Linked DNA regions of Homo sapiens: regions 1 and 2 are each linked to region 3. The links are contacts of gene promoters, found by promoter capture Hi-C in blood cells and fetal thymus (Javierre and others, 2016). All regions are on one chromosome and are shown on one strand. Each heading gives the region's core, a stretch centred on a gene start or on the middle of the fragment in contact. The rest is flanking DNA. Distances are from core to core; before and after follow the strand shown.

Region 1 (4,223 bases), core at 267-2,766, 900 kb after region 3:
CTGGCGTCTTGTGTCCCTTCTCCACTGATTCCTCCCTTGGGGTGGGCTGTCCACAGGCACAGTGGCCTGCTAGCACTTGGGAGGGGAGCATGTACAGTGTGTTTACTGGAGTTGTCTGCATGCTCACTTGAAGCATTCTTCCCTTACCAGTGGAATGTCTCTAGGAGAACATATACCAGTTAAACTCTGCCATTTTGCCTCAGTTCACATGCATGAGCCCACTCGTACAACTCCCGAGATCTTATCGGGAAGCTGCTGATTACCAGCTTCAGGCGTTTCTACATATTGGGAAACTGCCTTTCTCTGGAACCAGCTGCAACCAGTTATTATTTTAGCGAGACAGTGTGACAACTGCCTGATCATCATCTGATGGTCACCTGATATTCCTGGTGGGGTCGATGGGGGAGCTCTCATCTGCCGGGCTCATGCCTGACTAGCTACCTACTGTAACGGGGTCAAAGCCATATGATTATGGAGCAGGCCAGGCAGGATATGTGGGAGAGCTTTCCTGTGTGGTCTCTGCAGCGGTGAGGTGAGCTGATGGAACGTACAGCAACATAGGTACTTGTAGTGGCTATTTTTTTAATTGCTCAGCCTCCATTTCCCTTTTATTGGATACAGCACCCCAATTTCTGATTTGTGGACTTAACCCTCTCTCCTTGTGTGGACTCTTGGTAGGACAGTAAATCAAGGGGCTTTTCCTCATAGCCAAGAGATGGGCACGTGACCTAGGCTGGAGCACTCAGACTGTCTCCTGAGACAGGATCTTGCATCATCAGAAATGAACACTTGGATGACACTTGTCTCCTCAGCAACTCTCAGACAAAATAGTTGGCCAGTTTCTGTTGGTTCCAGTTCTATTTCAAGACTGGCTCTCCAGCCTGTCTCCTCTGTGAGCTACCTGATAACCTTTCAACAAGTTATCCTTTTGTTTGATTAGCTGAAGTTGGTTTCTGTTGCTTGCAACCAAGGAACCATGATAAATTATCATCTGGTTCATAATTTCCATTTCATGAACCTCAGATGGTGAGCAATACTACAAAGACTTGGATAGCAGCTGCTAAAAGAGGAGGTGGCTGGAAGCATCTGAAATGTAGTCCAGAATAGTCCTGGGAGGCTAAACAGGTAAGCACTAATTGGTGAGGATATGGGAAATAGCTGGAAGAATTAAGTGCACCAACTTGCTGAAATTTGCTCTTACCAGTAGGAATGAGCCAGGGATATATAAGCAAGGAATGTAAGAGGTGAAGCATAGAAAATTCATATTCCATGGAAATTTAGGACTGAAGATTGTGCAATGATCCTCAGATTACCCAAGGCACAGATGTCAGAGGTGATGTCACAATACAAGAAAGCAAGTGAGAAAAATGCCCCTTTCTAAAAGGGCTCTCTGACCTCTGCTGCAGCCGGATTCTGAGAAAAATAGGCACCGGGGAGGCCCCTTCCTCTGCTGAAGTCTTCTGTTCTCAACAATGTGAGGCTGGGCTTGGTCAAGATGAGTTGGGATGACTGCAGAGGTGGTGGGTACTTGGTAGTGCTGGAGATGGGAGTCTGAAGTGTGGTGAGAAGTCTGGACATGGCTCGAGGACATGGCTGCCCCTCAATAGGAAGCTGAGGCAGTGGATGACAATGCTAAGCTCTTGACATGTTCCTCCATGAGCAGCTGGTTGGGGAAGAGCTTGTGAGTCACACCTCTTCTGCAGAGGATATGTGTTGGCTGTGTCCATCTTCACCTGAGCAGTCCTGGATCATGCTGGAGGCTTGCTCTGATAGACCGAGGCTTGCTCCACAGCCTCCCCATGTTCTGAATCCATAGTGCTTTGATCTAAAGGCAGAACCCTGCCCTTCCTTTCCCCCAACCTGCCCTCAGAGCTCCAGAAGACTGAGGAGCCCTCCACTGTGGCTGCAGCCTGGTGGCTGGGGTCAGGAAAAATGCGGCTGGCATTTGGCCCATCCTATCCTCTGCAGTCAGCAGGTGGAGGGGAGCCGAGGGTTATGTAGCAGGGGCCAGGATGAGGCATACTACAGGGATCTTAGTTGTAAGCAACAGAAACTAATTATAGTAATTTAGAATGGAAAACAAGTACACCAAAAAGACATTGGGTACCTCACAGAATTGCTAGAAGGACTGGAAAAACAAGATCTGGAGGAGACACAAACAGAAACAAAGACCCAGCCCACTGCAGGAAGGGTTCAGTGCAGACATCATTGCTTGTATGCTGGACAGCAGACATCACAGCCACCCTGCTAATGCTTGCAGCACTGGAAGTGGGATGTTGCTGTAATCCTTTTATAATCTGACAGGATCCCCTTGCTTGTTTGTTTCACTGACTTCCATTTCTGACTTTGGTGCAGTGCTTCTGATTGGCTGGGAAAAAAGAAGGAAAGATGTCCAGTAGAACTCCCCTCTACCTTCATTTAATCTTATTCTTTAACTTACCTTCTTTTATCATCAGAATTCTCCCCCCCCCTTTTTTTTTTAAAGAGACAGGGTCATGCTCTGCCACCCAAGCTAGAGTGCAGTGGTGCAATCATAGCTCACTGCAGCCTTGCACTCCCGGACTCACATGATCCTCCTGCCTCAGCCTCCCCAGAGGCTAGAAGTATAGGCAAGTCATTATACCCCGCTAATTTTTTGTAGAGATGAGCATCTTATTACACTGCTGAGGCTGGTCTGGAACTCCTGGCCTCAAGTGATCCTCCCCACTTGGCCTCCCAAAGCACTGGGATTACAGGTGTAAGCCACTGCACCTGGCCTTTACATATTTTATTTATTTTATTTTATATATACGTTTTGAGATAGGTCTTGCTCTGTCACCTAGGCTGTAGCGCAATTGTGCAATCGCAACCCACAGCAGCCTCAACCTTCTGGGCTTAAGCAATCTCCCACCTTAGCCTCTGGAGTAGCTTGGACTACAGGCATGGGCTACTACACACAATCCTCCCACCTCAGTCTCTGGAGTAGCTGGGACTACAGGCATGGGCCACTACACCCCGTTAATTTTTGTATTTTTTGTAGAGATAAGTCTCCCTATATTGCGTAGGCTGGTCTCTAACTCCTGGGCTCAAGCGATCCTCCATTTAAGACTCCCGAAGTACTGGGATTACAGGCATAAACCACCACACCCAGCCTACCATATGTATTTTTAAAAGAAGAACCCTTAGCTGGGCACAGTGGCTCATGCCTGTAATCCCAGAACTTTGGGAGGTTGAGGTGGGAGAACTGATTGAGCCCAGGAGTTCAAGACCAGCCTGGTGAACATGGTGAAACCCTGTCTCAACAAAAAATTAGCCAGGTGTGGTGGTGCACACCTATGGTCCCAGCTACTCAAGAGGCTGAAGTGGGAGGATCGTTTGAGTGCAGGAGGTGGAGGCTGCATAAGCCATGATGGTGCCACTGCACTTCAGCCTGGGTGACAGAGCAAGACCATGTCTCAAAAATAATAATAATAGGCCAGCATGGTAGCTCACACCTGTAATCCCAGCACTATGGGAGGCCAAGGTGGGCAAATCACTTGAGGTCAGGAGTTCAAGACTAGCCTGGCCAACATGGTGAAACCCCAATACAAAAATTAGCCAGGTGTGGTGGTATGCACCTGTAACCCCAGCTACTCGGGAGGCTGAGGCAGGAGAATCATTTGAACTCGGGAGGCAGAGGTTGCAGTGAGCTGAGATCCTGCCATTGCACACAAGCCTGGGCAACAGAGCGAGACTCCGTCTCAAAAATATATATATACACATATATATGTGTGTGTCTCGGTATGTGTATGTGTGTGTGTGTGTATATATATATATATAAAGAACTCTTAGCTACCATCCTGTAGCAGGTGCGGTGGTGCCTTGCCCAGATCCCCATACCCAGCTGCTGTGAGTGTGAGCCACTAACACATCACAGCTGCTCTCCTTTTCCTGTGTTTCAGGAAAATTGCTCTTGGCTGAGAAGAGCTGCCCTGCTGGGAAGTTATGGAAATTATGAGCCCATTTCCCCCAGGAAGAGTGGGGGCAGCTCCAGCCAATGACTGGCTGATATCGGGGTACAAAAGCTGGCCCCTTGTCTCCAGGTAGGTTGGGGTCCAGAGCCCTCCGCTGCACTTCCCTTCCTCCCTCACAGATCTTTCCTGAGAACAGTGCTACAGTGATCAGAAGCAGCTGTGCTCCCTGGTCTCGGGCTCTGCTTCTAGACAACCAGGTCTCAGGCACAGCTTTGCTGTCAGGATCATTAT
Region 2 (4,272 bases), core at 316-2,815, 920 kb after region 3:
CGATTGTAGGGCTGAGATCTATGAGCAGGTGGCAGCAAGCAAAAATGCAGGCAGTGGCAGAGAAGAGTGGAAGCTGGTCTGGCACAGGAGATCAGTGGAGCCCTACCCACAGGTCTGAGATCTGCAAGCAGGCAGCAGTGAGCAAAGGAACATATGGCAGTAGAGAAGAGCAGAAGTGCACCATGGGGACCATGCCGACCTATTGTGTGTCACCCAATGCTAGCACCAAACTGGGCTGGATCAGGGGGACAGCGGGGTCCTACTTCAGGTCTGAGATCTGTGAGCAGGCAGCAGCAAGCAAAGGTTGACATGGTGGTGAAGAGGAGCAGAACCACTCCATGGAAAGCATGCTGACTTGTGTGTCCCCCAATGCCAGCTCCAAGCTGGTCTGCCAAAGGACATCAGTCTGAGCCCTACAATTTATCATTCTATGAGACTTTTTCGAAGCTTTCTTCATATCTTCTTTGCCTTTTCTTAATGAGAACTCAAATACTCCAACTTCTGAGTACCCATCCCATTCTCCTTATCTATCTAGATGGTACCTAAATGAAGGAGCCAGGTAAGAGTCTGATTGTTCCCTTTCTCTTATGTGTTAAGGTAGCTGATACTTGGGAAAATTTAGACCCAATGTTTAGGGATTTCTTGCTTAAATTCAGAATAGAGGTTGGCGTATGGAGTTTTTAATAAGTTGTTTTAAGTCACCTCGATAGAAATGGCTTTATTCCTCCAACTATAATTTGAACACTGAAGGGAAGAAAATTGGAGAAGTGCTTAAAATGATTATGAATGGTGTAAAATGTTACTGCCAGGGCTGCAGAATAGTTGATGGTTTTTTAAACCCAAAGCTTACCCACAGTGTTTTGATTGCTTTAAGATTTCCTCTTTAACCCAAATATATCTTCAGATCTACTCTGGTGACTTACTGGACTTCATTTTCCTCCTTGTTCTAAAAGTGGAGGGGTGGTTCATAGTAAAAAAATTTCAAGAGCTGGAACATAAATTCAGAGTTACATTTGTGATGTAAAGGTTTGGGAGTTTAAAATGCCAGATGCTGCCTGTTCAAGTGTTTGTTTCCATAGCTCCCTCCTCATGTCAACAGAATTATGTTCAAAGATGAGAGTGTTAGAGTTCAAACTCTAATCTCTGATAGGGATGGAAAGGGGGGAGATGAAAGAAAATTTTTAATATTTTACCATCAGAAAAAGAACGAATTTAAGTAGAAATGGTTTTGAATAATATGGTTCTTGAATAAAAACTAAGTTCTTTGAAATAGAAAACATTGTATCATAAAGATAGTTAAATCTGGTTGTCTCATTTGTTTTAATAAATGCCAGATATTTCATTAGTATAGAGAAAATGTCTTATAGCTCTTCTGTTTAAACTTTGATTGGGCTCTTAATTTCTTTAAAAGTTAGAAAACTTAGGCCTAGCATGGTGGCTTACGCCTGTAATCACTGCACTTTGGGAGGCCAAAGCAGGTGGATCAGCTGAGGTCAGGAGTTTGAGACCAGCCTGGCCAACATGAGGAAACCCCATCACTAGTAAAAATACAAAAAATTATCTGGTCATGGTGGTGCATGCCTGTAATCTCAGCTACTCAGGAGACTGAGGCAGGAGAATCACTTGAACCTGGGAGGTGGAGGTTGTAGTGAGCCGAGATCGCGCCACTGCACTCCAAACTGGGCAACAAGAGCAAAACTCCGTCTCAAAAAAAAAAAAAAAAAAGAAGAAGAAGAATTAAAGCTCATGATGTATGTGCCTTTATAACTGGAAAGTACCATATTCAATTTTCAGAATATTCAATAATAGTGAAAGAACGAATAGATTGTGTTAATAGATTGTAACTTTATGCACAAAGTATGGAAGTACTTGTGAATATTTATGCTCTGTTTGGTGGTGTAAGGTAAACCTCAGTGACTTTACACACCAGTTGGTAGATGGGTAGTGCTGGATGAGATCCCAAAATAGGCTCTTCATGTCTTTTTTTAGTATGTACAACACATTTTAATGTACATCTTATTTGGCCCTTCCAAACACAAATAAGGCCTGTGTATATTCTCCCTGTATTGATGATGAAAAAACAAAGACTTTGAGATCTGAAATGACTATGTAAGACAGCTACTGAACAGAACTAAGGTTCTATAGTAAGTACCCTGAAACTGACATGGAGATGGTAGCGATGCCTAATTCAGTTCCTAAACTTTAAAACTGTGGAATACATTGTATGTTTTACCTATAAAGTAAACTTATCTCTTAGAACTTACTCCACCTTGATTAGTTCAATTAAAAGCTTATTTTATACAACTCAGAGGCAACATTTACCTGTCCATTTTTTTTTCTAAAGGGAAAGGGGTCTTAACTGTGTTGCCCATACTGGCCTCAGTCTTCTGGCCAGGGCTCAAGTGATCCTCCTGCCTCAGCCTCCTGAGTAGCTGGAATTACTGATATATTCCATCTTGCCTGGCTCCATCTTATGTCTATACATTAATTTCAACAGATACGGATAAAAGTAGAGGTAATAAAATTACCCAAATTTACCAATCAAGCAGGTTAATAATTTTTAAAGAGTTTTCTCTTGTCACTGTAAATTGAAGCTGAGAATTTCCTGGACAAGAGAAGCTGGAGACAGGAGAGGTAAGGTATCATGCCTTAAGCATAGAACAATAATAAGGAGTGTTAAATCAGAAAAGTTAAAAAAATAGTTTGTGAGCACAGAATTTAACATTTTATGTTTATTTGCATGACACTTAAATTTTCATTTCAATTTGCCTCTTGAAATTTATTTTTCTGGCATTCAATAAAGTGATAAGCGAAACCTCAATTTCAGCATTTGCCTACAATTCCTAAGTTTCCATAGAAACTGAGGCAGGACATTAACAATTTGCTGTTAATATCTTTAGTTTGGACAATTTTATATCAGTTTACTTGGAAACTGAGAAATTCCTACTTAGATGTAAAACATTTTAGTTTTACTACAATGAAGAATGGAATTATTTTGGTTACTTAGAAAAAAATCAGACGTAAATAGTGTACTTTGTTCTTCTGAATCATTTCAGAATAATGTGATTTCTCCAAGCCACTTCACAGAGATATTCCTAAGAACCTTTTTTCAGATAGTCCCACAGACATTTTCTACTACCTTGCCTTTATTTAAACAGTTATATGGTTTGGCTGTGTGTCCCCAGCCAAATCTCACGTTGGATTGCATAATTCCCAGTGTTGGGGGAGGGATCTCGTGGGAGGTGATTGGATCATGGGGGCGTATTCCCCCTTTGCTGTTCTCACAATAGTGAGTTCTTATTATATCTGATGCTTTGAAAGTGTGCAACACTTCCCCCCTTTGTTCTCTCTCTCCTGCTTCACCACTGCAAGACATGCTTGCTTTCCCTTCACTTTCCACCATAATTGTAAGTTTCCTGAGGCCACTGAGCCATGCTTCCTGTACAGCCTGTGGAACTGTGGGTCAATTAAACTTCTTTTCTTTATAAATTACCCAGTCTCAGGTAGTTCTTTATAGCAGTGTGAGAAAGAACTAATACAGAGAAGGGGGGCATTGCTGGAAAGATACTTGAAAATGTGGCAGCAGCTTTGGAACTGGGTAACAAACAGAGGTTGGAACAGTTTGGAGGGCTCAGAAGAAGATAGAAAGATGAGGGAAGGTTTAGAACTTCATAGAGACTTGTTGAATGGTTTTGACCACAATACTGATAGTGATATGGACAGTGAAGTCCAAGCTGAGCTGGTCTCAGATGGAGATGAGGAACTTATTGGGAACTGGAGTAAAGGTCACTCTTACTGTGCTTTAGCAAAAAGACTGGTGGCTTTGTGCCCCTGTTACAGAGATCTGTGGAACTTTGAACTTGAGAGAGATGATTTAGGGTATCTGGTGGAAGAAATTTCTAAGAAGCAAAGCATTCAAGATATGGCCTGGCTGCTTCTAAAAGCTTACATTCATTTTCATAAACAAAGAAATTACCTGAAACTAGAACTTACATTTAAAAGAGAAGAAGAGTGGAAAAGTTTGGAACATTTGCAGCTTACCCATGTGGTAGAAAAGAAAACCCGTTTTCTGGAGAGGAATTCAAGGCTGCAGAAATTTGCGTAAGTAAAGATTAACTGAATGTTAATAGCAAAGACAATGGGGAAAATGCCTCCAGGACATTTCAGAGACCTTTGTGGTAGCCCCCCCCACATCACAGGCCTGGAGGCCTAGGAGGGAAGAATAATTTCATGGGCCAGGCTCAGGGTCTTGCAGCTCTCTGCAGCCTCAGG
Region 3 (4,597 bases), core at 465-2,964:
GTATCGCCTTCTTTGGGACACCTCCCCGAGGCCTCCCCCACGCTAGCTGGCTTCACAGATAGGTCCATGTTGTCGCAGCACCTCCAGCACATCACAGCTGCAACATTCCTCACTGTTTCTGTAAGTCTATCTTTGTAGTTGTCAGTATCTCTCAGCTCATTTCTTAGATTCTTGAAGGCAGAGGCTGGATTTTACTCATTTCTCTCTCCCTGGAATCTAAGTCTTAGTAGGCCTTCAATAATTGTGTATTAAATGGAAGCTTGCTATGATTTTAACCAACACAGTAACTCCAGGCCAGAAAAGGCTAAGCGAGTTCTTCTAAGCCATACAGGTTTTAGTGGCTGAACAAAGACTAAAATTTTTAACCCTGTTCTTCTGACTGCCAAACCTAAGCTAATGACTCGTGTGTGTGTGTATCTGTGTATGTGTACACACGCATGTGTGTGTCCACCAGTATCATCACTAACCCCTGGCCATTTGCTTTTAAAATTATTTTATTCAGAGACTTATACAATAAGTATAAGTATACAATAACCCATGTTCTTTTAGCCTCTTCTGAGACCCTGGGTTGTTTATAATAATAATCACTATTATTCCTGAAGGGAGGCTATTGCACCCTTCCAATTATTCAGACGATTTGCTGACTGTCTGGATAATTCCGAAGCCTTTAACCCCTCCCTAACGTTAGAGGCGGTAACTTTCATCCGTTTACTTTTTCCAGGTGCGGAGGCGAAGCAGCCTTATTCAGAAAATCGAATTCAAACAGGACCTCAAGCTGCCGGCTGTTGCTTCTACCAACTGCCCCATTATTAACGCCAGACGGCGCTGTGTCCTCACTGGCTCTTTAACCACCACGTCGGGCTCACAGAAGGCTCAGGTTTCCTCCAGTATAGTTCAGGGGATGGTGAACGCTTCCCAACAAGCCTGCAACAGGCGCATTTCTTTCTGCTTTTGGTGCGTGTGTGTAGGGAAGTGTCCCATCTTTTAACTAGTCTTGCGGAGACCTGGCCTGGTGTTTGCAAATCTGTTTCCTCTATTATCGATCCGATCTCTGGATTGCTTTTTCTCTGACACTTGAAACAAATTCACTCCTATATATTTTTTAAGTGATTTTTTTTTTTTTTTTTTTTTTTTACAAAATAGAGCTGGGGCGGGGGGGGGGGGGTCTCGCTACGTTGCCCAGGCTGGTTTCGAACTCCTGGGCACAAGTAATTCTCCCACCTTGGCCTCCCAAAGTGGGGAATACAGACGGGAGCCACTGCGCTCGCCCCAAACAAAATCATTTAAATCACAATGCACTGAAGGCCGACTAGGTGTCAGGCGCCGCGCGGTCCGTCCCTTGTCCCCATGTCCCTGGCCAAAGGCTTGCTCTAGATCAGGGGACTCAGCCTCGAGGCTTTCCCGACGGTGTCAGCCAAGCACACACTCCCAGTTCGCAGGGCTTCGTGGTCAAGGTTCCTAGTTCACCTGTCTGGGAGGGCGAGGTGTGTCCACCCCTTCCAGCACCTGGGCAAACAGCTCCCTTTGCGGTCCTCTTCCACTGCTTTCCCTCCGCCCTGATTTTCCATTCCTTGTGAGCGGTGGTTTTGGTTGGGGGGAGGGGGCGGGGAAGGGGCCTGGCGAGGAGGGGCGTCAGAGCGCTGTCACCGGGTGTCGCGCCGCCCTCCCCGCCCCTCCGCCGGGCGTGTGGGGACGCCGGAGGGCGGGAGTCTCCGCGAGCCGCGCGGCGCACGGAGCACGGCGGCCGCCTGAGCTCGGCGCGGAGCCCGGAGCCCGCAGCCGACAGTCTCCTGCTCCCGTACGCTGGGCGCCAGCTCCGGCCGTGCTGCCCGGCTGCCTGAGAGCGCGCCCGGCCATGGAGCCCTCGCACAAAGACGCCGAGACGGCGGCGGCGGCGGCGGCGGTGGCGGCGGCGGACCCCCGGGGGGCGTCCTCGTCCAGCGGGGTGGTGGTGCAGGTCCGCGAGAAGAAGGGCCCCCTGCGCGCCGCCATCCCCTACATGCCCTTCCCCGTGGCCGTCATCTGCCTCTTCCTCAACACTTTCGTGCCGGGACTGGGTAAGACACGGCTGCCGCGACCCTTGCGACCCCCACCCCGCCGCGGGAGGGCGTGGGGGGAGAGAAGGGCGCGGCCGGAGACCTCCTGGCGGGGCCGCGCGCTCCAAGTGCTGCGACCACGCGCCACCGCCCGCTCCTGGCGTCCCCGGGCAGGTGGCAGAAGCGCGTGGAGTGTGCACCCCAGAGGGGAGAGGCTGCGCTGGGGTCTCCGACCCGCAGGCGGGGCCCCAAAGAGCCGGAAACTTTGCGGCCAATGTTGGAGCCCGCAGCGGCGGCCGGAATGGCTCTGCCGGCTTCGGAGTAGGGCTCCCGTCCCGGCGCCCCGATTTCTGCTCCTTCTCTCCGTCGTGTGCATCCGTCCGCGAGCCCACTTCCCCGAGAGGAATGGGGTCGGATCAGAATGAGCTCTAGGGCCTCGGCGGCGAGGATCAAACTCCCGGGCGTCGAAGTCAGCTGAGCCGGGGAAAGAGGACGAGCCGGGCTAGATATACCTGCAGCCCCCTTTGGTTCGCGGAGTGCGGACCGCGTGGGGACGAGAACTCTAGCCAGAGTCTCCTCCGCCTCATTCAGGGGTACCTGCACTTCCGCCAGCACCCCGCAGGGCGCCAGGGGGATGGGGGATGATTTTATTAGTTTGGATGCATGTGGCCAGAGATGAACCCATAGCTCCCTCGGATCCCTTCTGTTCCTGAGAAGTAGAGAGTGCGCCGATGTAATTCTGTGCAGGACTCCGGCAGCCGGCAGGGGTTCTGGTGGCATCTATGTCCCACGTTTTAAAGCAGAGGCCCCTTACAGAGATGGTGCAGGAGGGTGAATGGAGGCAGGGAATGAGAAGTTTTCCTGACCCTCCCTCCCTTAACTCCACCCCCAGGTCTCTGCCTGCACGCCCCTCCCCTCCTCCAGCTTGGCACTGGCTGCTCCTGCGTGCTGGGAGGTGCCCCCCTCTCCCGTGCCCGCCCGAAGAACCAGGCGCCCCAGTGCCCTCTCCGGGAGAAAGCGTGCCCCTGTCGGCGAGCCTGTTGCCAACGTATGGTTCCAAGTTCCCAAGAGCAGAGGCCAGCTGGAAGGGGTTTTCAGTTTGACTTTGGCCTTTCTCACGGTCTCCTCGCTCTTCGCCTGCTTAGCAGGGGCCTCTGCTGCGGTGACAGCCAAGGCCACAGCCACCCACGCAGGACCCGTTCACTTTCCCCTCCGAGCTTACTTGTCTTTCTACCCTAAGGGGCTGCTGCGGCCAGAGCAGCCTATCTGAGCAGTAAGTTAGGTGGCCTTTAGTTGGGCTTCTCTCTTCTGGGGTGCCTCCAGCAGCCTGTCCCCCTGGCTGGTGTCATCAGATCAGCTCTCTTTGCACATTTAGACACTGCAAGGAGGCCAGCTGGTGTTAATCTAGTTTTATCAGAAATTCTCACCTGCTGGAGTAAAAAGAGACTGCCTGCCCCTCCCTCTGGCGGATATGAAGATCCTCCTGAGCCAGCATGCATCTTGATCCACCTTTTTTTTTTTTTTTAAGTGGTGAGGTAAACGCCACCCTATGGTCTTTTGAGGAAACAAATGCATTGGTGCCAGGTGAGAGGGGCTGCACCAAGTCACTGCTGCACGAGGAAACCACCTTGTGGGAGACCAGCCCCAGGAGACAGCAGCTGCCCACGCATGTACCTGTGTGTACCCTCCCTGGTCTCCCTTCACTAGGTGCCTTTCCCAGCCTTAGCCCTGCTGCATTGACAGCATCGGCTGCAGGGCACCGTCCATTCCGCTGACCCCTGGCTCCTTGCCCTGGGGATCCAGCTTTTCCCTTTGTGAGATCAGAATCCTATGGGATTTTTGTGAAACAAACAAATAAACAAACAAACAAAACAAACCATTATAAGAAACCAGGAGAAAATAAAGGGAAGATATGCAAACCACAAAAGTAATAAAACAGGTGAGCTGTAGGTGCACAGATTTCTGAATTTTCAGTGACATAATCCTGGCTTTTTTTTTTTTAATTTTGCTTTGGTTGCTATTGTACAGTTTACTGGGTGCACAGGCTCCTGCTCCTCTCCACACGGAATGAGGGATTCCTGATCCTTGGTGGTGGTTCTCATCTGTAAGTCAGGCACACCTGTCTCTTGGCGTTGCTGAGAGGATGAAACGTGATTACATAAAGCCCAGCGTCTGGTGCATAGGAAGCTCTCTGGGGATGGTGGGTCCATCTTGCTCTTCTGCAGAGCTGAGCACTGGTCCCATCTCTGGGTGGGGGTCGCTGCAGCCAGGGCAGCACTGCCCTCTGGACCACTCAGAAGCAAAGGCTCTTTGAGTGCTTTTGATCCCTCTGCTCCCCTCTCCACCTGCAGTGGAGTCCCAGGCAACAAAGCAGCTCAGACCAATCTTGCAGGTGGTTTTATTGCCCCCCTTCCCCAGGAGTGGTTTAAATGGCCCCAGCTCTTGGAAATCTGCCACTTGGCCCAGATCCACTTCTCCAAGGCCTCCTGGCTTATCTGAAGCTCCCGGGACAACTGAATATTCATGGCTGATTCTGCTCTTTGATGAAATGCAGCTTCTTT

The links. Contacts are between HindIII fragments. The CHiCAGO score rates a contact against its expected background, and 5 or more counts as called.
Region 1: a fragment that was not itself captured here is called in contact with the fragment with the promoter of STUM in region 3 in 3 of 17 cell types (M2 macrophages, M0 macrophages and endothelial precursors); the score reaches 7.0 in M2 macrophages.
Region 2: a fragment that was not itself captured here is called in contact with the fragment with the promoter of STUM in region 3 in 1 of 17 cell types (erythroblasts); the score reaches 5.6 in erythroblasts.

What each region holds. Positions count from the first base shown.
Region 1 is chr1:227,449,946-227,454,168 of GRCh38, forward strand. No RefSeq gene overlaps it. Among named protein-coding and RNA genes, the nearest start is that of LINC01641, 59 kb to the left of the region's middle. The HindIII fragment of the contact is 5,874 bases long and covers 1-4,223 here.
Region 2 is chr1:227,466,661-227,470,932 of GRCh38, forward strand. No RefSeq gene overlaps it. Among named protein-coding and RNA genes, the nearest start is that of LINC01641, 75 kb to the left of the region's middle. The HindIII fragment of the contact is 1,445 bases long and covers 844-2,288 here.
Region 3 is chr1:226,547,050-226,551,646 of GRCh38, forward strand. It overlaps STUM (stum, mechanosensory transduction mediator homolog), which reads left to right and starts at 1,715. Exons shown (of 4, transcript NM_001003665.4): 1 at 1,715-2,057. The coding sequence starts at 1,856. RefSeq lists a silencer at 699-993. The HindIII fragment of the contact is 11,252 bases long and covers 258-4,597 here.